4 separate regions of the Homo sapiens genome follow, and all the other regions are linked to region 2. The links are contacts of gene promoters, found by promoter capture Hi-C in blood cells and fetal thymus (Javierre and others, 2016). All regions are on one chromosome and are shown on one strand. The core of a region is centred on a gene start or on the middle of the fragment in contact, and the rest is flanking DNA. Distances in the headings are between cores, read along the strand shown. Region 1 overlaps ST18 (ST18 C2H2C-type zinc finger transcription factor). Region 2 holds the start of ST18-AS3 (ST18 antisense RNA 3). Region 3 has its middle 20 kb from the start of ST18. Region 4 overlaps ST18 (ST18 C2H2C-type zinc finger transcription factor).

What was found. Contacts are between HindIII fragments. The CHiCAGO score rates a contact against its expected background, and 5 or more counts as called.
Region 1: a contact is called between a fragment that was not itself captured here and the fragment with the promoter of ST18-AS3 in region 2, in 1 of 17 cell types (naive B cells). The highest score is 6.3, in naive B cells.
Region 3: a contact is called between a fragment that was not itself captured here and the fragment with the promoter of ST18-AS3 in region 2, in 1 of 17 cell types (total B cells). The highest score is 5.2, in total B cells.
Region 4: a contact is called between a fragment that was not itself captured here and the fragment with the promoter of ST18-AS3 in region 2, in 1 of 17 cell types (naive B cells). The highest score is 6.7, in naive B cells.

Annotation. Positions count from the first base shown.
Region 1 is chr8:52,348,092-52,351,005 of GRCh38, forward strand. The region is part of intron 2 of ST18 (ST18 C2H2C-type zinc finger transcription factor); the gene reads right to left. Among named protein-coding and RNA genes, the nearest start is that of ST18, 60 kb to the right of the region's middle. The HindIII fragment of the contact is 4,159 bases long and covers 1-2,914 here.
Region 2 is chr8:52,192,768-52,195,672 of GRCh38, forward strand. ST18-AS3 (ST18 antisense RNA 3) reads left to right here and starts at 1,595. Exons shown (of 2, transcript NR_134310.1): 1 at 1,595-1,986. All of the region lies in intron 8 of ST18 (ST18 C2H2C-type zinc finger transcription factor), which reads right to left. The HindIII fragment of the contact is 4,332 bases long and covers 1-2,905 here.
Region 3 is chr8:52,428,293-52,431,180 of GRCh38, forward strand. No RefSeq gene overlaps it. Among named protein-coding and RNA genes, the nearest start is that of ST18, 20 kb to the left of the region's middle. The HindIII fragment of the contact is 6,015 bases long and covers 1-2,888 here.
Region 4 is chr8:52,405,861-52,408,959 of GRCh38, forward strand. All of the region lies in intron 2 of ST18 (ST18 C2H2C-type zinc finger transcription factor), which reads right to left. Among named protein-coding and RNA genes, the nearest start is that of ST18, 2.3 kb to the right of the region's middle. The HindIII fragment of the contact is 6,295 bases long and covers 1-3,099 here.

The DNA of each region.
Region 1 (2,914 bases), core at 15-2,514, 150 kb after region 2:
CATTTTTTAAGTGTGGAGGAAAGGGAAGGAAGAGATGAAAGAAGGGGAGGAAAAGGAGAGGAGAAATAAGTATCACATGTGGCTCACAAAACCTAAAATATTTTATATCTGATCCTTTATAGAAATGATTTACAAACCCCAGTTCTCTCAGTTCTACAGTTAAGAGCAAGGCAAGTGGATGCCTCAGATAAGGACTGCATCTTTCAGCCTCATTGGAACTAAGGAAGACCATGAGGCTTTGCTTTGAACAAGAGAAAGCCCAAGCATCGGCAGCTTCTGAACATCTTGGTTCAAAACAGCAGACATGCCCCACCACTGTCCTGTCTTCTTCTATTTTTTAAAAAAATGTTTATCTGACAGATAAAACTGTGTATATTTCAGCTGGGTGCGGTGGCTCACGCCTGTAATCCCAGCACTTCGGGAAGCCGAGGCGGGCATATCACCTGAGTTCGAGACCAGCCTGGCCAACATGGTGAAACCCTCTATCTACTAAAAATACAAAATTATCTAGGCATGGTGGTGTGCGCCTGTAATCCCAGCTACTCGGGAGGCTGAGGTAGAAGAATTGCTTGAACCCGGGAGGCAGAGGTTGCAGTGAGCCGAGATCGTGCCATTGCACTTCAGCCTGAGCAAAAAAATGCAAAACTCCACCTCAAAAAAAATTGTATATATTTATCATGTACAGTATGAAGTTGTGAAGTATATATACATTGTGAAATGACTAAATCTAGCTAATCAACATATTATTATTAGATATAGTTATCATTTGTGTTCTGGGAACACAACACCCACTGTCTTAGCATTTTCCAAGGATGCAATGTATTTACAATACCATATTGTACAATAGATCTCTCAAACTGATTTCTTCTAGCTGAAGTTTTGTACCCTTTGACCAACATCTCCCCCATGCCCAACCCCCACGCCCCAACCATTCTCTAGTCACCACTATGCTCCTCTGCACTTCTGGATTCCACATATGAGTGAGACTGTACCGTATTTGCCTTTCCATGCCTTGCTCGTTTTTTGTTAAATCTGGAGATCACAAAGTCCTCCAGGTTCATCCATGTTGCAGCCCTTGACAATATCTCCTTCTTCTTTCTCCCTTCCCTTCTTCTTTGCCTTTTATCCTTCCCACTGGTGGAGACGTGGTAGACAGCCTGTGTCCTGAAGGCTTTGTGGGGTAAAGCTGCCATAACTGTCCTGAACTGCCAACCTTCTAACCTTCGTGTGATTAAGACATGCCTTTTTACCTTTATTAATCACTGTATTTTAAGTTTTTGTTTCTCCCAGCTAAACCTACTGCTAACCAATAAAATATGATAATGTATTACTCTGACGTTCTGTTAATGTAACTTACTCAAAGATGTTGCATAGAGTTTGAGCTCATCCCACCCAGCCATCTAAAAATAGGTCCTCACTCCATATTATAGGGTAATGCTTTTTAAATTGAAACAAAATGATCATCTTTTCCTATACCTAAGTAGTCATTCAACTTTGTTTTCTGGGACAAATATAAAAGTGTGAGAATACTGAGTGGAAACCAATCTGACTTATAGGGTACAAAGCAAAACAAATTTCTGATTTCTAGCACAAATGTGTAGCTCAACTCACAAATCTAGGTTTTCTGTGTATCAGTCAGGGTCCTGGTGGGAAACAGATGGCACGCTCAAGCCGGGTAATGTGAGGAGTGTTATATAAAGAGACTGCAAAGGTGTGAGCAGGATGTGGGAATCAGTGAGGAATCATGGAATATCCCAGGCAGAGCAAGGAGGGAGAGTAGGGGGTCAGGGGGAAGGAGGAGGACTGTCTGGAAAGCCCCTAGCAGGGGCTGGAGCTTTTGAGATAGGCACACTTGTCCCGACAGCAACTGTGCAGGGAGAAACAGAGGGATCAGGAATTCAACACAGCAACTCCACGCCCTTCCTCCTGTTCCACACCCCGCAGGACCTCCCATCACAGAACCCGGCCTGAAGTCTGAGGAGGGAGCAGGGTGGGAAGTGTGGGGATGAGCATGGAGGGACCAGGGACAATAGCCATCCAGGTCTCCCAAGACAGAAAACCCAAAGTGTGTGGGTTAAAATATCCTTTGAGGTTCTAACTTAATTAATCATTATGCTCATGAAAAATAACTCCTTGCATTAGAAGCTCTTATTAGGTATCCCAATCCTTCTATTCTATGACGGACAGAGGGACACAGTGGATTAGAGCACTAGAGACTGTTTCCCAAAAATCTGAGGGGAAATACACTTCTGTGACGTGTTTGACCTTGAGACAAACGATTCTGGTGATCTCCTGTGTACAAATATGCAAGGTCTGATTTAGACAGCAGAGACACCCACAGCTAGGAAATTGTAGGTCATGGCCCCAAACATCAGAGGGTACTCAAGTACCATCCCTATTTTAATGTGAAATGAGGTACAGTCATCCTTCATTTGGAAACAGCAGCAACTGCAAACCAAACAATCCTTTTCTAACTCTTGAAAACTTGTTTTCAAAGTTTTGAGACAGACTACAACAAACCCTGTATGTTCCCAGACAGGAAGTGGGGGAGGCAAGATCACGGGACTTCTGTCATCCTTCTATGCCATTTTCATCACAATACTCACCTCTCGTGTCACTTGATATATATATACTTTTTTTTTTTTTTGAGATGGAGTCTCGCTCTGTTGCCCAGGCTGAAGTGCAGTGGCCCAATCTTGGCTCACTGCAACCTCTGCCTCCCGGGTTCAAGCAATTCGATTGCCTCAGCCTCTTGAGTAGCTGGGACTACAGGCGTGTGCCACCACGCCCAGCTAATTTTTTGTATTTTTAGTAGAGACGGGGTTTCACTGTGTTAGTCAGGATGGTCTCTATCTCCTGACCTCATCATCTGCCTGCCTCGGCCTCCCAAAGTGCTGGGATTACAGGCGTGAGC
Region 2 (2,905 bases), core at 345-2,844:
CCTGTAGGTCTGAGGATCTTGGTTCCCAAGGGGAGAATGCTTTCACTAGGGTACACAGAAAGAGTCCTATTCAACTTTGAGCTCAGACTCCTTTTCTGTCACCTGGGTTCTTGTTGCTGAGAGATAACAGGCAAGGAAAATAGATACCGTCCTGGCAGGAGTCACTGACCCTGGTCACTGGAAGTTGTAGGGCTGGGGGCTTATTACATATTGGGACAGGATATATATAGCACCCAAGTGATCCACTGGGGTATCTCTTTACTGTTTCTGGCCCAAACTTGTCAGCAAATCAACAGGTTAGCAGGCAGAGAATCTGAAGGTCATGGTGACCAAGGGCTCAAAGGATCTGAGTCGTGCAACCAAGTAAACTGTCTAGATCAGCAGAGGAACTTGGCAAGGATGAAGGGAATGGGTAGAAGTATAGGTAGATAATGAAGTTAATATACAAAGCAAGTATAAAAGGATTCAAGCTGGAAAGGTGTAGATGTCTGTGTATACCATGGTATGCACCTCCTCCTCCCTTCAGGACTAAGGTACACATCTTCCCTACTGGCTGAAAGTGTGGGGAGCTGATGGGCGTTAGCTGAATTCACTTCTGAAAATTGCCCTCAACCTGAGAGCCATTTAACCCAAAGTCCCATCTCCCTGGGACAGCCCATATTCACACTTGCCTCAAGGCAGGACCGACTCTGAAGAGGAATCTATCACCAAAGCTCTTGGCAGAGTTGGCTAAGCCTTCCATAGAACCTGCACTGCAATTCAACTTCTCTCTGCCCAGTCCCGCTTCCCTCACATCTGACAGGTACTGCTCCCTGGCAGGCTGTGCTGCGTGATACACAATCTGTACATGGCTAACTGGACTGTATTTTTAGGAAATCAGGAGACAGGACCCTGGGGAAAAGTTACAGTCTTGTGCATTCATCTGAAATAGGCCTTGTGATTCCTAAGAGAGTTAACGGGCCACTGTAAATGACAAATTCACTTTTACCCAGTGAGGACTGTGAAGCTATTGCTCATTCTGTAAGGATAATCCCTGAACTTCATGAGCCAACTCTCTCACCTATGTCTTAGAAACTTTGTGACCACACTCATGTTTACCGAGCTACAGTGTGTCCAACAGTTAAACCTATAATTGAAGCCTTCTCCTATTACTCATGTCATAAATTCAGCGACTAATAAGTTGTTGCTATTTATTGATGGTTGGTTTGCTGTCATGGAACACTGATTCCATTGACAAGGTTATCTGATAACGTCAGGTTTATAAAAGGGGAGAATTTTTTTTCCCGTAAGGCCAAAGCTAATAAATGCTTTTTTTTCTCATTTAGTTGGGACTAAGTTTTATAAATAATAAATTAATTGCATATCGTCTACCACAGAATTTTTTTCATAAAATAACCAAGCCATTAAAAGATACAATTTAATAACAACGAGAGGAGTAACAGGAAATTTCCTCTGAATCGTGAGGTAATAGTAGGTAAGTGGGGTTCCCCAGCTGCCACTTCACACTGGGTGAATAGACCTTCCTTTGTGATGTAATTCCAGTGACAGCGTCACAATACACTGCTTCTATGCCAGCAAGGCATTTGGCATTCACCTTGATTATAAACCTTATCTCTCTACACTATAATCATCTTCCCAGTAACCTGGAAACACCTACAAGAGAACAGAAACTGTTTCTTGCTCCTTTTTATATCTCTGGTGCATAATATGAGGTCTGTGTGTTAGGAGCATGCTCAGTGAAAGACCACTGAAGTTGAGCCCCACCCAGATGTGAGCATATGAAGATGAATGTTGGTGAAAGCATGCGTCTTGCATCTGGAGAACTGCCTTCCTCCGGGAGAGCCATCAACAACCACCCATTACTGTGCAGATGATGGGACTAACTTCCCTTATCCATGTGGGCTTCTCTGCCCAGCTCCCCGCCACTGAGGATGTGTTTTTGCAAGACAGTCAAAGAAGAGACAAGAAGTAAGCCAGCAGAAGCCGGTGAGCCAAGTAACCCTAACTGGTCCACACAAAGATTGACTGAATGACTCCAACATCATGAACTGATCAGTTCCAAAGTCTACTCTTCAAGAACATGAACAATCATATCATTTTAAAGATAATTTAATCCTCACATGGACCAAAGTTTTTAAAGAAACAACTATTCAATCATCGGCTAAAACACAAAATTATACACCAACATTTGAAATACCATTCAATATAAAATATAAATAAATGTCTTTCAATTTATACTCAAAGACAATATGTTTTAGTTAAATCATTTGGGCACTCCCAAACTCCTTTTAAGTGCCCAGAGATTGACAGAGCAGTTCAGCTACTGCATAGCCATGGATTAGCTATACAATATAGAAACAGGATCTGGCTTCTTCAAAAACGTAATATGATGGATCATAGGGATGTACCCGGAAGAGCAGAAGTTGAATATAATAAGATAAAATTAGAAAATTGAAGATACTAAGAGATGAACATTATGTGGATTTTAGAATCAAGATACTGAAAGAATTCAGATACAGACATTTATTACTATTTTTGTTTGCTAGTAAATTTGGCTTCAATAAAGCCCACACTGTTATTTTAATTTGAGTAATACTTCAAAATACTTTCTTTTGAGTATATAATATAATAAAATATATGTGACTTTATATTTATTTTTCAAACAGTGTTATAAAACTTAAAAACTATTAGGAAAAATTAAACATAAATTATCTTATTTTGATCATAAAGAAAGATAAAAATAAAATTCACTTAGTTTATGAATATTTGCCTTACCAAAATCATAACTATATTTGAGGAAGGAATATTTAAAATAATCTTAAAAAAACTTTTAAAGAAGATTATTGCAACATCTTAATTGATCTTGGATAAGTACTGGGTTTTATTATAGATTGTATCTGCTAAA
Region 3 (2,888 bases), core at 224-2,723, 240 kb after region 2:
GTTAAAATAATTTTTTCTCCCTTTCCAGAAACCCCACTATTAACACAGCTAACTCTTCATCCTGAAAGATTGTGGCTCCAATCCACAAATCATAAACATGCTAGGCCAGGAGCAGTGGCTCAAGCCTGTAATCCCAGCACTTTGGGAGGCCAAGACAGGCGGATCATGAGGTCAGGAGATCGAGACCATCCTGGCTAACATGGTGAAACCCCGTCTCTACTAAAAGAAATACAAAAAAGCACCCAGCTGTGGTGGCGGGCGCCTGTAGTCTCAGCTACTCGGGAGGCTGAGGCAGGAGAATGTTGTGAACCCAGGAGGCGGAGCTTGCAGGGAGCCGAGATGCGCCACTGCACTCCAGCCTGGGTCACAGCAAGACTCTGTCTCAAAAAAAAAAAAACAAAAAAACAAAAAAAAACAGAAAAAAACATGCTAGGTGTTTTAGCAGAAGGAATTTAATACAGGGAACTAGTTTCACAGGCTTTAGAGGAATAAAAGAGTGAACAGCTGCAATAGCCCAGAGATCAGGCCTATGGAAAGCAGCTTCCCTGCCCCAGGGCTGGAGGAACAAAGCCTCAGTGTGGGAAGCTCTGATGGGGCCCTGCATGGGGCTGGGTGCTTCCTTGAAAAAGGAGGATCCCACAGAGCAGAGTGAAAACCTGAGGAGGGGCATGCTTCACCTCTTAGGGGACGCAGGAGGGTGATTTCAGGAATGCCCAGAAAAGAAAGATGTTAACGGCCACCAACCAGGGCATGCTGACAGGATGGCTTACGACTCTGCTTTCTGTTCTGCTGGCCACCTTCCCTATAGGCCCCACTATTGGTAGATGCTAACAGGGATCCTCTGTCTGAGGACAAACGAGGTTTGCAGATTTCCTTCTCCAGCATCCCAGATCCTTGAGGACAGCATTGGAGTTGAGAATTAGGAACCGCATGACTGGCACACAGAATATAGGACGCTTCCTCTAGGAACTCTTCGCTGATCCTCACCCTGGACCAAAGTCAGTCCTCCTGCACTTTTTCCCATGGCACTGTCGAGCCTTTCCATCCCGGAGTTATCCTCACCGAGTTGCTGGTCTCCCCTGCTGGGCCACAGGCTCTGTTAAGGGCAGGGACTGCGTCAGACTTCAAAACTTGGAGGAAAATAAATGCTAATCAGTGTTTTCTAAGTTCCTGCACTCGTGTCTTGGCACAGAAGGCGATTATAAATGTTTGTTGGATGTGCCAGGCATTGTAACAAGCAGTGTAAATATAGAGATGAATAAAATGAGAAACTTCTTCTTCAGGAACTAGTAGACTACCGAGAAAAAAATCAAGCACCGTGTCTGATCTTTAGAAAACTAAAAACAACACCAATAAGCATTTTGTTTATATAACATTCCATTAGGCAAGTTTTCATTCACTTGATATGTTAAATAGACAAATGAAAGGCTCTCCTAGAAGAGCTAAAAGACTCTAAAATCACAGTGTACTTAGGAGCTTCATAATACTATATAAGAATGTAATACACCAGGTTAGCATGTGAAAAGAATGAGCATCCTCCTAGACCATAGCTCCACCCAGGACGATTCCATGCGAATCTCCCCACTGCCACACCCTGCCAAGTCTCAACTCTCAAGCCCTGCATTCAAGATTCTTTACAAATGGGCCTCTATCTGCTGTGCCAACCTGATCCCACTGCACAGCTTGACTAATTTACATATTATTCCCTGAACACATCAGGAGCGATCATCCCATGTCTGTTTCTGTGCCTATCAAATAAAAATTTTGTCGAGCAAGAATTTATTTTGATATAAAGGTAGATATCAATATTTGTTTTCCACAAGTATCTACAAAGTCATTGCATAAACAATCTCTTCACCAGGAATTTTAAATGCTCTTTTTAATATATTCACAATTCCCCCTCTGAGTCCATGTCTACTTCTGGTGTTCCATTGTGTGCTGTGTATCATTTACCTCCTTTGGCATAAGCTATGAAATGTTTTCATTGCTGCAGCTCTCAAACCTATGATGCTGTGATGCCACCCCTTACTTAGGATCCTCAGGATCTTTAATCAGAAATGTTCCTTGCATCAGGATTAACTAGAAAACCACTTGTAATCTCATTTATTTCAACTATAGCAAGAGTTGCTTTTAAAAATCCTTACTTTTGGCCAGGCACGGTGGCTCATGCCTGTAATCCCAGCACTGTGGGAGGCTGAGGCAGGTGGATCGTGAGTTCAGGAATTTGAGACCAGCTTGGCCAGTATGGTGAAACCCCGTCTCTACTAAAAATACAAAAAATTAGCCGGGTGTGGCAGCGTGTGCCTGTAATCCCAGCTACTCAGGAGGCTGAGGCAGGAGAATCACTTGAATCCGGGGGGCAGAGGTTGCAGTGAGCCGAGATCGCACCACTGCACTCCAGCCTGGGGGACAGAGCGAGACTCCATCTCAAAAAGAAAAAAAAAATCTTACTTTTCCACCTCTAGATAGATAGTAAACTTAAATGCAAACACTGTATTTTGTTCTTTCTCATATTCTTCCATAGGATCCATGCTCTATGAGACTGCTCCAGCCAAGCTGCTGAAAGAAAACTCAGAAAGCTACTTGTAAAGGTAAATTTAAAGATGCATTATTTCCTCGGCATGAAAACATAATTCTCTTAACACAAAATTAGATGAACAAGCTGACTGGAATGAGACTTAACCTCAACAGGAAATAAATGAAGCGGGCTCACAGAGCCAAGCAGTCTGCAGAGGAGTGCAGGTCAGGGAGGCATTCTATCCTATCATGTTGGAGTGCTGCTTGATCTACAGCTGCTCCAAGATGCTCTCTCAGAAATGCTGGCTAGAAATAGCATTTTTCACTTTTGTGTTATGCATGAATCATGTGTGCGCACATACGCACGTGCG
Region 4 (3,099 bases), core at 196-2,695, 210 kb after region 2:
GGGGGAAGGGGTGGTCATCATGCTTTTATGACTGGATCCAGATGACATATCATTAATTGTTGAAGCTCTCTAGACTTTGAGTTCGACGTGGAGTTGATAGGGAGACTTCTGCAGAAGCCCTGTACTCAGACAGCAATCTGCTCCCACTTACAGAGCTCCATGAGTGGGATTTGCAGGCTGTCCATATTATATTGCCTTATTTGCCATCATTTTAGTCACTAGTAAATTAGCTGTGAAGACAAGAGTCAAAATAAAGGGGAAAAAAGGTGATGGTCTAACTGCACTGTCTGCCTAGATGAGGTGAAATCTTTTCTTTTAAACGCAACACAGAATGTAATTAATGTAAAGCAGAGGAACCTTTCACAAACAACAGGATCAGAGATTCCAATTACTCCCTCCTCTGTTCTTCAGGAACTTCTTGGGAGGTAATTATAAAACTCTTCCTGTAAGTAAAATGCAACAAGACTCCAACCATTGCTTCCCAGTGGGTTATGTGAGAAACAAGAAGCACAGAATGATTCTCACAGGTCAGCGTGTGTGTGAGTCAGCTGGAGTCCTGAGGCATCTCTCAGAGATTTGGGGGCAGTCACTCCCTGGCGGGCCAGCGATCTGGCCTTGAAGGAGTCCTTGGGGCCACCTAGGGTAAGAGTTTGGGGCCCTAGGAACTGTGAGGAAGAGTTAAACAGAACCCCGAACACATGATGTGGGTTGTGGCCTTCCCCCTAAATGCAAATGAGAGCTTGACAAAGGGAACCCGCAGGCAGCCAGCTGAGGTCTTAACATCCAAGTGGATCCTTTTGTGAAATCCATTCCTCTCTTCACCAAATCATTCACATTAGCCATTACATGAAGTCTTTGGTGTTTTTCCTTTTGCTACACACATTACTCATACAGGGAAGGGAAGTGAGCTGAGAGTTCAAGGGCACTTTTGACTAGAACCAGATGAATTGTTGCAGTTGCCTGGGAAACCTTTGAAAACAACCATACTTGATATGTCAAAGATCTGAAGTTAACAGGAGCCAAAGTCATCTAGAAGGTAAATCCAAGAAAGCTAATGGCATAAGAGGGACACTCGGCTTGTAAAAGTAGTTCCAATTTGTTATGCGTTCGTGAACTTTTGAAAAGAGGAAAGGATTTTATCATCCTAATTAGCCTATAAGAATGATCATCTTAAATGCCAACTTTCCGATTACAGAATAAAATTTAGTGAAGATATTTAGATCCCCTAAACATTTATGCATAGACGATGAAACTAGAGTTTTATAATAACCCTAAAACAAAATATAAATGTCTCCATAGATTTGTCCCCTCACGTTCTTTGGAATTCTGTTCCAGTCTAGTAGGTTTTTCTTTCCAGATTTCAAGTGTAAAATGTATGTCCAATGTAGAGTATCACGTGTTTTATTATAAAACAAAAAATATTTTCTGTGGTAATTCTGAGAAGAAAAAAATTAACAAGTAAAACAATGTGATATCATTTTGCATCAAGGAAATATGGATTTAATGGGAAACTTCCTTAAGCTGCATTTTGCTTCAAACGCTGTGTTGCGTAGGGAATCTTCCACGAATCTGAATTTGTGATTTTTTCAATATTTTTATCAAAAAAATCACCCCAAAAAGCTGCATAATGAATATTTGTGCACATGACTAATACTAGACTTCACATAGTCTTTTATAATAAAATAAATCAAAAGGATAATCGAAGTGAAAACATCTCTGACAGGGAAGTAAAATTTTGTCCCTTGCAACTCAATCCTTCCATGTTGAGGGACCCATTTCGAGATTAGCATGTTTGGGGAGTTTTATTATTATTTTAGAGATATATGGTTTTGGTGGAGGACGCTGTCCAAAAACGGCTACTTTCATGCAGAGATTTTCACTTTAAGTTTCAAGACATCTGTTTGGAAACTCCTCGGAGAGTTCATTGCTCTGCGCTGCCCTCTTCTGGTGAGCCTGTGTAAATGGTTTCTGGAAAACAGTCCAGTGCCGCCATCGTTTCCATCCTCCTCCATTTCCACCCCAATTCATCAATACATTGCTCAAGGGCCTGGATTTCCTATGTGGTGATGTACAAAGCTGAATTTTAATTCAAATAGTTTAAAGGTATAATCAAAGCAAAGGTTTTTTTAATTTGGAATTTTTTATTTTTACTTTTATTTCGTGTTGGAAATACAGGTTTTCCCAGATAACTTGCAAAGCCACAAACTAAGGACGCTGTCTCACCTAAAAAGTTTGGTTACAAAGTCAGTAAGAAAAATGATGTTATTTTTGAATAACATCAAACTAATTTAATGTAGGACTATGAATAATTTAATGTAGGACCATGTTGCTAGGAATGTCATTTTTATCTTGACCACCTGAACATAGCTTACAAGAGAATCACTACTTTGGCATAAATTATTTAGGTTTATCTGAAGGGACCATTCCTGCTAATTTGACAGCAATTTATCTGAAATAGTTAGAAAGATCAAGGCTCCAAGTTGTGTGCAATAAATGTATTCACCAACTGCCGGAAAATCAGAAGCTCTTCCTGACTGGAACACCACTGTGAGCCTCGCTGTCTGCTCTCCCCCAGTTACAAGTGCTTTCCTTAACCCACAGTCACGAGACAGAAAACTGTACAACCCTGAGAATCAACAGCTAATTTCTATGTGAACTGGAAGAACAATCTTGTCATAGTGCTAACGTTATGTGTATATATTGTACCAACAAATAAAAGTGGTTATTATGCTTTGCTCAAGAAACTCATCTACAATCCCAAGTACTGCGTAGTGACCAATGCAGTATTTGTCCTTCTGAGCCTCCTTCAAAATACCCATTCAAAAGTCCAAAATAATGTTCATTTTCAGTGACCTAAATTAGCTAGAGATTTTAAAAAATCTTATGGCTCAAAGAAAGAACCATGAAGTTTGATTCCTCAGTGCCTGTATTCCAGTAAACAGACATATAGCATGCATATGTTGCAGGTCTCCTATAGCGACAAATGGTTCAAGCATTCAACGTGTCTTCATATTTGATGCTTATTATGTGAAAGCAACAGATGTACTTCTCATCTGAGCACAGAAAAAGTGATGTTTTTAAAAATCCTAAATAGAAAGT